Linked DNA regions of Homo sapiens: region 1 is linked to region 2. Evidence: promoter capture Hi-C in human tissues and cell types (Jung and others, 2019). All regions are on one chromosome and are shown on one strand. Each heading gives the region's core, a stretch centred on a gene start or on the middle of the fragment in contact. The rest is flanking DNA. Distances are from core to core; before and after follow the strand shown. Region 1 holds the start of ATP1B4 (ATPase Na+/K+ transporting family member beta 4). Region 2 holds the start of RHOXF1 (Rhox homeobox family member 1).

Region 1 (5,779 bases), core at 2,545-5,044, 250 kb after region 2:
GTGACCAGCTTTTGTAACAAAGGTCTTATAAAATAAAGTGAAATTCATCTCCCCTGTACCTTCTAACCTTGGGGGCTACTTCCTTTTTTGGAGTCACTCAGAACACAGGATGTCTTTTTCCACACAGGCCCGACCCCCTTCCCCTGCAGGGACTAAAACTTCTAGCAACACAGTTCCCAGCCAGGACCCTCTGCAATGACTCTTCTCTCCCTCCAACTGCTCCATTTTGATGGCATGTGTTTCCAAGCTTCTTTCTCCCAATTGGTGCTGCCCCACCTATACTGTGCTGCTCCTCCCTGACCACCAAGCAAGCAAAGGTTTCTGGGAGGCTGGGGCTCTGCCGGCCCACTGCAGTGCCATCACTCTGCTTGCCAAAACCATTTTAGGCAGCAGGTAAGTAAGTGGTTGGAGAGGTACATTGGGTTTCTGAGAGGCACCAGTCTAGCTAAGGCAGAAATAGGCTCTAACTTAATAATCTGCTCATCACACACAGTAAGAGACACCCTGACTTATTCAAAGACACCGTGGGCGGTGCAGAGGATGAATAAGCATGATTCACTGCCACTCTGGCACCCGGGGCACGAAGAATAATAAAACCCAAAGAATTGTAGCCGCCTGAGTAGTAAATTAAGAGATCCAGGGCTCAGCTAGACTCTAGACATCAATGTTACCATGGCAATAAAGGGCCCCAGCCTTCAGCAGCTATTACAGAGCAGGCATCTAATAGGCTAGTCTATGTCACAGCCAAAGCCCAAGGGGCTAGCAAAGAAGACCAATTAGCATATCCATTCATTAGGGGCCTCTGCACACTTCTCTTAATTCCAATTAGTTGTTTGTTTGAACCAATGTCTCTGGTCTGCATTATACTCATTACTGCCTTTTAGCCACTAGAAATAGGCTTGAATCTCCACAATGACCTCACAATTTCCCAAGCTTTCATTTTTCCCCTAGGGGTCTAGGCTTATACAGTCACAAACCCATGGCCCTCTGTCCTTTGAAATGAAAGCGTCTGTCACTGTACAACTGTACTTGACAGATGGAAACTCTGCTCAGGAATGTGATGCGCTAAGGGTTCTTCCTGGAACCTAGTGAAGTAGGGATCTGGGGCCATTATCTGGACCTTTCAGGTCAAGGAAACCCTCTGGCCTTAGCCAGTGAGCCTACTGGCTATGCCTGCTGGCCACTACTCAGAGGCTAGCTGTTCGGGAGGGGGAATTTTGGGCACTGGGGACCAGACTGGCATCATCAAAGTCAGGCAGTAACTGTTCCGACTTGAAGTCCTGCCCTTCAAGATCCAGCCCAAACCCCACCTTTTCCGGGAAGCCTTCCCTGATTATTGTAGCCCTAAGTGAATTCTCCCTCCTCCATGCACTTCAAAAATGACATTCTGTGCTGAGCAGCATACATGGGCAACCTCAGGCCCTAGCTTGGCCTGGAGCTTCCTTACCCAGTGACCTCAGAGTCCACAGGTCACTAATCTTGGAAGGGACTGGGGTTCTAGAGAGTATTCAACATTACTTGGGTGACTCCAATGGCAAACAACTCTTAAGCTCCACTGCACATTACCTCCCAGAGTCCCTGAAGACCTAACCAGTCCCTTGGTATGGAAAGTACACAACTGCTCTTTGACGGCTCTGGGACACATTGTGGCCACCCCACAACTTACACAACTGTGGAAATGGCCCACAAGAACAGATGTCATAAACTAGCCCATCTCGTGGTAAAGGCAAAGATTATCTGAAGGGTGCTACCATATCTTCCTTCCTTTGGGAACAGGGGGACCCAGCCCATAAGATTGTTTCTGTTCCCAGTTAGTTGCCATTGTCAGCCAACTCTGTGGTTTCACCACAGCAGGCACTCAGGACAAGGGGCTTATAGAAGCATTTGCTAATACCTGTGCCCAAGAAATGAGCATGTAGTTTTCTAGACTTTAATAATGTGCCCCCGAATCTGCTGTTATATTCAAAGTCTCTCCTTTCTCCCTCCCCTTGTCCCTTTGTAGCCACTGCTTCATTTGCATCCGCATTAGCCACTTGTGGCTCCATTCTGCTGCACTGTTAGGCATATTGCTTTTTTTTTTTTTTTTCAAATTTGGCAGGAATCATTTCCCTTCTAACTAGTGTTTTGAGTGTAAATTCATACAGATTTCTGTCTTCAACATCCTATGGGATTTGGTTATTTTACCCCACCCAACAGCTGACATTCCAGAACACAGCCTGGGCTATAGCTGAAATACATGGCAAATGTCTTAAGTATACATCAAACCTCCAATTACCCAGAATGCTTAGGAATGGAAGATTCTAGAGAATGGAGTATTTTGTTACCTAAGGTCATGTCACTCCTAACTCCCTTTTGTCCCCCTACTCTCAGTTTTTGAAATGTTTTAAAGTGAGTGTACTCTCTTTTCAGCCTTAGACCAGTTAGCCTAGCCATTGTTTGGTTTTAAGGCTTCCAAGGGCCTGGGGATTCTCATACTTAATGTAAGGAATCACACAAAAGACTGGCTTGGAGAAGGTGTAGAAGATAGAGATCAACATCTACTGAGACCAGAGACCAGATTATCCCCTAGAATATATTTTGCTTTTAATAAAATTCAAAGAGAAGAATAAGTTTCTCTTTTTTGTAAGTGGCCTTTTTCCCTTCAAAGAAGCATATGGGAAGAGACACTGTTAAAGAAGAGGTCTGATTAGTAACATTACAGTGAAAGGAATTCTTATTTAAAATTAACTGCAATTGAAGCCATTTTCATCAGAATAGCCTTGAATTGGAGTTATGATTAAATCTTTCTAAGCTATTGTGCTGTTTTTCTCAGTAATGAATGTGCCCAGAATGTCAGTATCTGCAACATTCTCAGCCACTTGAGTATAATGGGGTTTGATTTGTGAAGGAAGGATCACAAACTCCATCCAGGCCTTTTAGCCACCCAGGCTCCAGTAGGGTGGACCCCAAACAGACCAAAAATGCTATACAATATTCTTAACTGTTTCTTCTAATTTTTCCTTTCATTGGATCCCATGTTGGTTTCAGGAGTTACATATGTCTGGGAAACTGACACTGCAAAGTTCTGGCTTGTTCCCTGCCCTGATGCTAAGGGATAAATATAGATCTCAACCACTACAGAAATTTGGCCAGGATTTGGAGGGGTGTGTGTATGAGGGGCAGTGACTGATGGGGCCACTCTGACATGTGGGCTAGAAAAAGGCTTCCTTATGTCCAAGACCCTCTTTGGGGCAGGGAGGAATGAAGTAGGAGCCTGGCTTCTAAAATCAGAAAGAATAATCCACATTTTAAGAAGCTCATGGATTGACACAAATAAGAAATATTGTAGGTGGCTTACAGTGTGTGTGGGGGTGGGGGGAGAGAGCAAAGGGAATCTTTCCTGACATCCTAGATCCTTTTGCATGAGATCAGCCTTATGAAAAAAGCAAGTTATTCTTGGCCATCTCCCCTCACCCCCAACTCCCACCCACACCCACCCCCTGCATGCACTGATATCCAACTCTCAATTGAGAAGAACATGACTTAAGATTTCCATTGGGGCCATCATATCTCAAGCGCTGGAGAAAGACAAGGGGTGGAAAGACATATAAAGGGGGCGGGAGGGTGAGTTGCTCATCCTCGTGACCCAGAATATCTCCCCCTCCTTGTAATGATGAGCTTGCTTTTCCATAAGGGCTTTCCCTTGATTCAGGGAAGGAGCCAACCAATGACAGAGGGACATGTTAGATTATTCTGGGGAAGGGCTCATGCCAGGAGGGTTCACTTTTACCAGGCGCCAAGTGTCCCCAGCAACCAGTGTCTCCTGTACCAGCAGAAGCTCCAGAACTCTCACCCGATTGCCTGCCTCTGCTGCGTCTTTGCCCACTGAACAGCCATGAGAAGGCAACTCCGGTCCAGAAGGGCTCCATCCTTTCCTTACAGTTATCGCTACAGACTCGTGAGTGCCAGAGAGCAGAATATTTTGCTGCCCCCTCCCCTTTTATTTTAATGGGGTGGGTTGGGGGCTGTGTAGACCTTGGTTTACGGCTGCCTCTCTTTGAGACGGGCAGAAACAGCGAAGTTTAGGGGAGCCCAGGGTTTCAAAAAGGAGCAGTGACTCCCAGCACCCCCGGGCACCCTAAACTGCTGGATAAAAGGAGGAAGCCCCTCTTCCTGTGAAACAAAGATAAGGGAAGGAGAAGATAACAGAGAATAAGTGGCTTCTAAAATCTTTTCCTGGGAGTATAGAATTTTCACAGACCTTTTGGAGTATAAAAGTTTAATTCTAATAGCAAGAAATTTAGCCAAGAGGGAAGGAAGGAGGAAGAGGAAATGAAAGGCACTGCCTACCCAGCTGTCTCTTGGGTGGTAGCTTCTTAGAGTCCAGCTGCTCTCTTTCTAAAGTAGAAATTCCAAACTATAGCTAAAATCATAGAATCCCCAATAGGAGCAGGGAGGAATCCTAGACATTATCTCTCCAGAACCCCTCATTACCTAAAGGAGGCTGCTGTGGCTCAGAGTACAGGAGTGACTTGCAAGTTAGTGGAGGAGCCAAAGTGAAAATGCAATATCCTCACTGCTAATCTTGTACTCTTTCCATTGTATTTGCAGAATGCATCTTCCAAACCCCCGATCTGCCACTACCCATTGCCATCCTGACTGCCACCCCACACTGCCCAACATGTAGACACACATACATTCTTTTGTCTCATCATTTATTTCCAGGGTGTATTACAAATTATTTGATCCAAAAGTTTATTTGCATTTATTTTGCTATAAGTCATTAATGTATGCCACACGCAGTGCTTTTTGGGGAGAGGATTTTGAAATGTTCCCCAGAGAGGATTGTGATCTCAGCCCCAGGAGGAAACAAAGCCTAAGCCATTTTTCTTTGGGTATGGCCACTTATGTAACCAGGGAGTTAAGTGAAGACTGTCAACAGCCCGCAGAAGAAAACACACATTATTCTAACCTCCTATCAATCTACAGAGGGCTTCTCTTAGCTTTTTAGCCACAATTTGAAGAACCGTTTAACTTCCCCCAAAGTTTCTTCCAGCTCTCAAAACAGTTACAATCTGCAGGGGTATAAAACTATTTCTTACTTGCCTTCTTTTCTATGTAATCTTGTTAAAATGTTGTGTATAATTTCAGTTATTTGTTAAGTGGCTTGGATTTTAAATGCATCAGGGGATCTTGCTCTTTATAATACTTGACCAAATTTAAAAATAAATTAATGCAATCCTGTGCTAATTTCTCTTTTAAAATTAACCAGCCATTCAAATGTTTATGGTGTATAAACACATGCCTTGCTGTCTTCTTTGCAGAGCACAAATTTAAAATTTATCCTTTGGGTCATACTGTTTGTTTATATATTTGTTTATATGTTTATATATTTAGATTACTCAAAATGGAGCTACCCTCTGTTCTTCAGACTCTTCCCTTTCAGGGAAACCTGATGACCCCATCACACACCCACTACCATATCCCAGCACACTCACACACACTATCACATGAGGGTAGTGCCACTTTAGGAAAGTGACAAGACAGAATCTTAGGGATAAGCATTCTCATTACCAAAGGATTTTCTATTGGATTTTGTTAAATAGTTTCACAAAGATACATTTTACACAGGATTTAATTAATGAGGATCTTTTGGGGAAGGCCTCTCTTGCACAGTGTGACCATTTCCTTTACCTGGAAACAGAGGAGAGGAGAAAAGATTCGAGGTTCCTAAAGTAAAGCTCAGGAACCTCTCACAGCCTCTCGGGTGTGAGAGCTGTAGGGGCAAATTAGCCGTGAG
Region 2 (5,445 bases), core at 988-3,487:
CTTGAACTCCTGGACTCAAGCAACCTTCCCACCTTGGCCTCCCAAAAGCGCTGGAATTACAGGCCTGAGCCACCGTGCCTGGCCCTAATGCACTATTTTAATAAATAACAATTAATGCAAAAATCTGTGATGAGGACCAGGCACTGTGGCTCAGGCCTGTAATCCCAGCAGTTTGGGAGGCCGAGGCAGGCAAATTGCTTGAGCCCAGGAGTTTGAGACTAGCCTGGGCAACACGGCGAAACCTTATCTCTACACACAAAAAAAATACAAAAATTAGCCAGGTGTGGTGGCCTGTGCCTGCAGTCCCAGCTACTCAGGGGGCTGACACGGGAGGATGGCTTGAACCCAGGAAGCAAATGTTGCAGAGAGCTGAAATCGCACTGCTGCACTCCAACCTGGGCCACAGAGAGAGACTCTGTCTCAAGACAAAACAAAAAAACCAGAAAAACAAAAAACCAACCAAACAAACAAAAAAAAACTATGATGAACAAATTATCAAAATTTTAAATAAAGGAAGGATCTAGCACTGTAGTTGCATGACAGTACCTCATTCTCCTTACCCCAATTTCAATAAAATTTTATTTATAAAAACAGACCACAGCTGGGTGTGGTGGCTCACTCCTATAATCCCAGCAACTCAGGAGGCTGAGATGGGAGGATTGCTTGGGTGACAGATCCCCCACTCAACAAAAACAACAACAACAACAAAAACAGGCCATCATCACAGGTAATAAAAGAAAAAATACATAACTTGGACTATATCAAAATTTAAAACTTCTGTATATCAAAAGATGCAATGAACAGAGTAAAAAGACAACTCATAGAATGGAAGGAAATATTTGCAAATCACATCTGATAAGGGGTTAATATCCAGAGTGTATAAAGAACTCCTACAACCCAATAACCAAAAAAAAAGAAAGAAAGAAAGAAAAAGCCACTCAGATTTTAAAATGGGTAAAGGACTTAAAGAGATATTTCTCCAAAGAAGATATACAAGTGGCCACTAAGCACATGAAAGGATGCACAACATCACTAATCATTAGGGAAAAGCAAATCGAAACTACAATGAAGTATCACCTCACACCCATTAGGATGGCTATGTAAAAAACCCCAGAAAATAACAAGTGTTGGTGAGGATGTGGAGAAACTGGAACCCCCATGTACTGTTGGTGTGCACCTGTATCTATAAAATGGAATATTATTTAGCCTTAAAAAGGAAGGAAATTCTAATATATGCTGCGATATGGATGAACCTTGAAGACCTTATGCTAAGTGAAATAAGTCAGTGACAAAAATGCAAATACTGTATGATTCTACTTACATGAGATACCTAGAGTAGTCAAAATCATAGAGACATAAAATAGTAGAATGGTGGTTGCCAAGGGCTGGGGAAAGGGGGAAAAGGGGAGTTGCTTAACTGGTATAGAGACTTAGCTTGGCAAGATGAGAAGAATTCTAGAGATCTATTGCACAACAATGTGAACATACTTAACACAACTGAACTCTATACTTAAAAAGTGGTTTGGACGGTAAATTTCATATTTCCGTGTATTTTACCACATCTTTATAAAAGGGAGGCACGGACTAGTTTCCAGGTTTCATTCACATAAACATTGCAATAAAACATTTACCTTGATGCCCAGGAGGTAAATATCCCCCTCCACACCAGCACAAAGGCAGGCAAGGACCCCCAGTGGCTTTTTCCTCATGATTGGGTGGGGCAAGGGAGAGAAAAAGATGCCTCGAAACGAACTTGGAGATCTCGTGGCTCCTGGAGCAGGCCACTTACCTTGTGGGCACATCAGGGTATTGAGTGTGTCGGAAAACACTTTCCAGCTCCTCCACCTGCAACAGCGTGAACTTCGTGCGCCGAGTTCGTGGCTGCATGTTCTCGGGCTGCGGACCCTCCATGGCCGCCTGGGCCGGCTCCTCCGGCGGGGGCTGCGGCTGCTGCCGAGGCTCCTGGTTTCCACCGCCGCCCTCGGGGATCATGCCGCCATCGCGGTTCATGCCGTTCTCGTGGTTCACACCGCCCTCAGGGTTCATATTACCCATGAGGCCTGGAGCTCCTTGGCCAACATGGCCTTCTGCGCTTGATGCTGCCCCCAGCTGAGGTGTGGGGCTTATTTTTACCTGGTATACACTCAGGCAGTAGAACACGGTGTCGTGGACGAGCGAACGCGCCATGGCTGGAGCGCTGCGCCCCTGCACAAACTCCGTGGCGTCTGCAGCTGGAGTGGGGGTTAGAGGGTGGAGCTAGTTCCTGTTCTCATGCTTGGTATTGGTTACAGTTGCAATGAGTGGGACTTGCTTATGCGCACAAGCAAGAGAGGGAATGGAGAGGAGTGGGGGGATGGGAAGTTGGGGGGTGCGGGTGGGGAGTGGGGGTGTTGCAGGTGGGAGTGGGGGGTTGTGAGTGTGGGGTGGGGTGCAGGTGGGGATGGGGGTGTGGGTGGAGGGTGGGGGGTGCACAGTGAGGGTGGGGGTTGCGGGTGAGGGTAGGGGTTGTGGGTTGGGGTGGGGGTTGCCGGTGGGGGTACATGGTGGGGGTGGGGGTAGCGGGTGGAGATGGGAGGTGTGGGTGGAGGGTGCGTGGTGGGGGTAGGGGTTGTGGGTGGGGGTGAGGGGTGTGGTATGGGTCGTGGGTGGGGGTGGCAGTTGAGGGTGGAGTGGGGTGGCCAAAACACAGGGGCAGTGTGGAGAAGAAAAGGGCCAATAGGAGGCATATATGTATGCAACATGGGGCCCCAGCTTGCAGCTTTGCTGACTACACCCTACTCGGGCCTAGTTATTACCCTGAGGAAAGCTGATTTGGGGGCTCAGAGGGGAGGTGAGATCTCACGGTGACCATAGGACGCCTTGAGTAAAAGTTTGGAGAATATCTCATGGCCTGACCCTCCATATTTGGCAGCATGCACAGGGCGCGGGCTATTAATTAAGCAGAAATGATTGACTGGGGGCTGCTTGTTCAGAGTTCCAGCAAAGGCACTGAAAGCAGAGCTGCCATGCTCTCTTCAGTGCTGGGATCGGGATCTTGGAGATGGGCATGCAGAGCATTCTGGGTGGTAAGATGTGCTCTGCAAGAAATCTAACGCACCCTTTGAGAAAGTCAACACAGAATAAACACGAGGCTGAATCTGTTAGCCTGAGACTGAATATCTTTGGCTATGCAAGAGAAACCTGTACTCATGGCAAAATGGAGTGCTATAAGGACAAGCAAAAAATAAATAAATAAATAAAATCGGGGATGGTATAGGAAGAGCACCAGTAAGGGCATACCTGCCAAAAATCTCCAATCTTGGGATGGAGATTTGGGATTTAAGGATATGCAGCTTACTGGATGTGGGGCCACTTCTGCTCCACAGAGCCTTGTAACTACACAGCCTTCCTACCACTGACCCCAATAAGCCCAATTACGAAGAAAAACCCTGAAGAGCCTGGTGCAGTGGCTCCTGCACTAGTCCCAGCTACTCAGGAGGCTGAGATGGGAGGATCACTTGAACCCAGGAGTTTGAGGCTGTGGTGAGCTAGAATCACATGGCAGCACTCCAGCCTGGGCAACAGACAGAGGCCCCTTTTCTTTAAAATAAATAATAAAATAAGAAATAAAATGAAAATGAAAGAAAGGAAAGCGCTAAGAGAGTCTGTCATGAGGAAGGGCATGGAGATGTCTTTTGAGGGTGGACAACTCATGAATCCTTAATTTTTCTAGAGATTGTGTGTGTGCTCTTAAGTGATGTTATATACTTTATTTTGTTTTTTAAAAATATTTTTAAAAATTTTATTTTTAAATGTTCTTTTAAAAACTTTCTGTATCTATTTATATCTATTGGTTATTTGAGGTTTTTTTGGCAGCATATATAAATATGCAGACCCTTTGAGTCTGTAGCCTACCAAGAGAGATAGCTCTCGTCTTCATGGTGATTCTGAGCATGGAAAGGCCCTTGCACTTGGCAGCATGACAAGGACTAAGCCACTCGCTCCATTAATTGACTGCCATCCACTGGGCTAAGTGAGATCCTTGCGTTCTATCCCTAGTGAGAGAAGAGAGAGGAAGAAGAAGAAAAATAGAAAGATAATAAGAAAATAGAAAAAGAAATGAATAAATGTACATTGTGGGGAGCAGGAAAGGACTACCAGTAATGGGAGGCATCAGCTAGGAGCACAGATCCGAAGCATGACTCACTGTGTGTCCTAGGACACTGGATGAATCTATCTGGTTCTCAGCTTCCTCACCTATAAAATGGAGATAACAACAGTGTCTCGATCATAGGGTTTTCATGAGAGTTCAATGAGGCAAGGCATACATGTAACTGAACACAGCTCCGACTGCTCACCAGTTGCAAAGTCCAGTGAACAAGAACGACGTCTGGTAGAAAGAAAGTGGCTTTATTCCAGAGCTAGTTGAGGGGAAGTAGTACAGGCTGCCTTGAGGAAGCCACTAAAGCCTTTGGGGCAGAAGGCAGGAGCTTTGAAAGTGGGGCTTGGCGTGAATGGCATGCAGGGGAGAGGGCGATGAAGTGCAGAGTCTATGTGACTTGCTTCGGATGTCTTATCTATCAGGTGGTCTGGCTGGCACCGTCACGGGCAGAGCTAGGTTGTAAGTTGAGGCAATCTCAATTTGCCTCCTGGTAGGAGAGAGTTCTGGAGGTTCCTGGTTTGCTTTAAGGTTCGGTCTCTGTAACTTCTAAGTAAACATGTAGTTAGATAAGCTTGCTGTGTAGGGAGTGTCTGGTGGAGAGAAGGTAAAGTTTATAATTGCATTCCCAAAGAGCTAAGTAGGAGGTGTGAGGAAAGGAAAAAGGAAAAAATAATTCATTTGATTCTTTAAAAAAGAGGTACTTGGTTATATATAGACTGTTTTATTCTTTTTCTTCAACTCCAAATAGTCAATTTATCAGCAAATCCTGTTGACTCCGCCTCAGAAACACATTCCCAAACCTTTAATTTTTTTTCTCTGACATGCTTAAGATAATCTCTATCATCTTAAACCTGGGATATTGCATTAGTGTCCTGTCTCCCTGCTTTCACCTTTTTTCTCCTATAAACATTCTCCACCCAGCAGCCAGAGTGATCTGATGATGAAAATGTGAATTACACCATGGTGCCCCTGCTTATCACCTTCATACTGCTTGTTCTTGGGTTGGGTCCAGAGTAGGTACTTAATACATGGTAATGCTTATTACATTATTATTTGCTCTGGTATCTAGGAATAAGATATATTAGGCCAAGGAAGAAAATCTGTCTGCTGAGTGAAAGACACACTCTCCTGGCACATTTCCTGGCCCAGGGCTCATACATGCAGCAACCAACATAGGCTTATTGATGGAAGCACATATAGGTACATAGAAACATGGTACGTGTATTGTTTTCACAAGAAGATGCTCTATCTTTATTACATGCTGCCAGAGGAGAACAATCACTCTCTCTCCCTTGTGAATAAAA

Evidence for each region. Contacts are between HindIII fragments. The study calls those that stand out against the background at their distance.
Region 1: the fragment with the promoter of ATP1B4 here is called in contact with the fragment with the promoter of RHOXF1 in region 2 in 1 of the 25 tissues and cell types used here (stomach).

The regions. Positions count from the first base shown.
Region 1 is chrX:120,358,295-120,364,073 of GRCh38, forward strand. It overlaps ATP1B4 (ATPase Na+/K+ transporting family member beta 4), which reads left to right and starts at 3,795. Exons shown (of 8, transcript NM_001142447.3): 1 at 3,795-3,937. The coding sequence starts at 3,875. The HindIII fragment of the contact is 10,002 bases long and covers 591-5,779 here.
Region 2 is chrX:120,113,676-120,119,120 of GRCh38, forward strand. RHOXF1 (Rhox homeobox family member 1) reads right to left here and starts at 2,238. Exons shown (of 3, transcript NM_139282.3): 1 at 1,790-2,238. The coding sequence starts at 2,187. The region is part of intron 1 of RHOXF1-AS1 (RHOXF1 antisense RNA 1); the gene reads left to right. It overlaps LINC01402 (long intergenic non-protein coding RNA 1402), which reads right to left. Exons shown (of 3, transcript NR_126557.1): 2 at 4,187-4,236; 3 at 3,967-4,034. The HindIII fragment of the contact is 14,045 bases long and covers 1-5,445 here.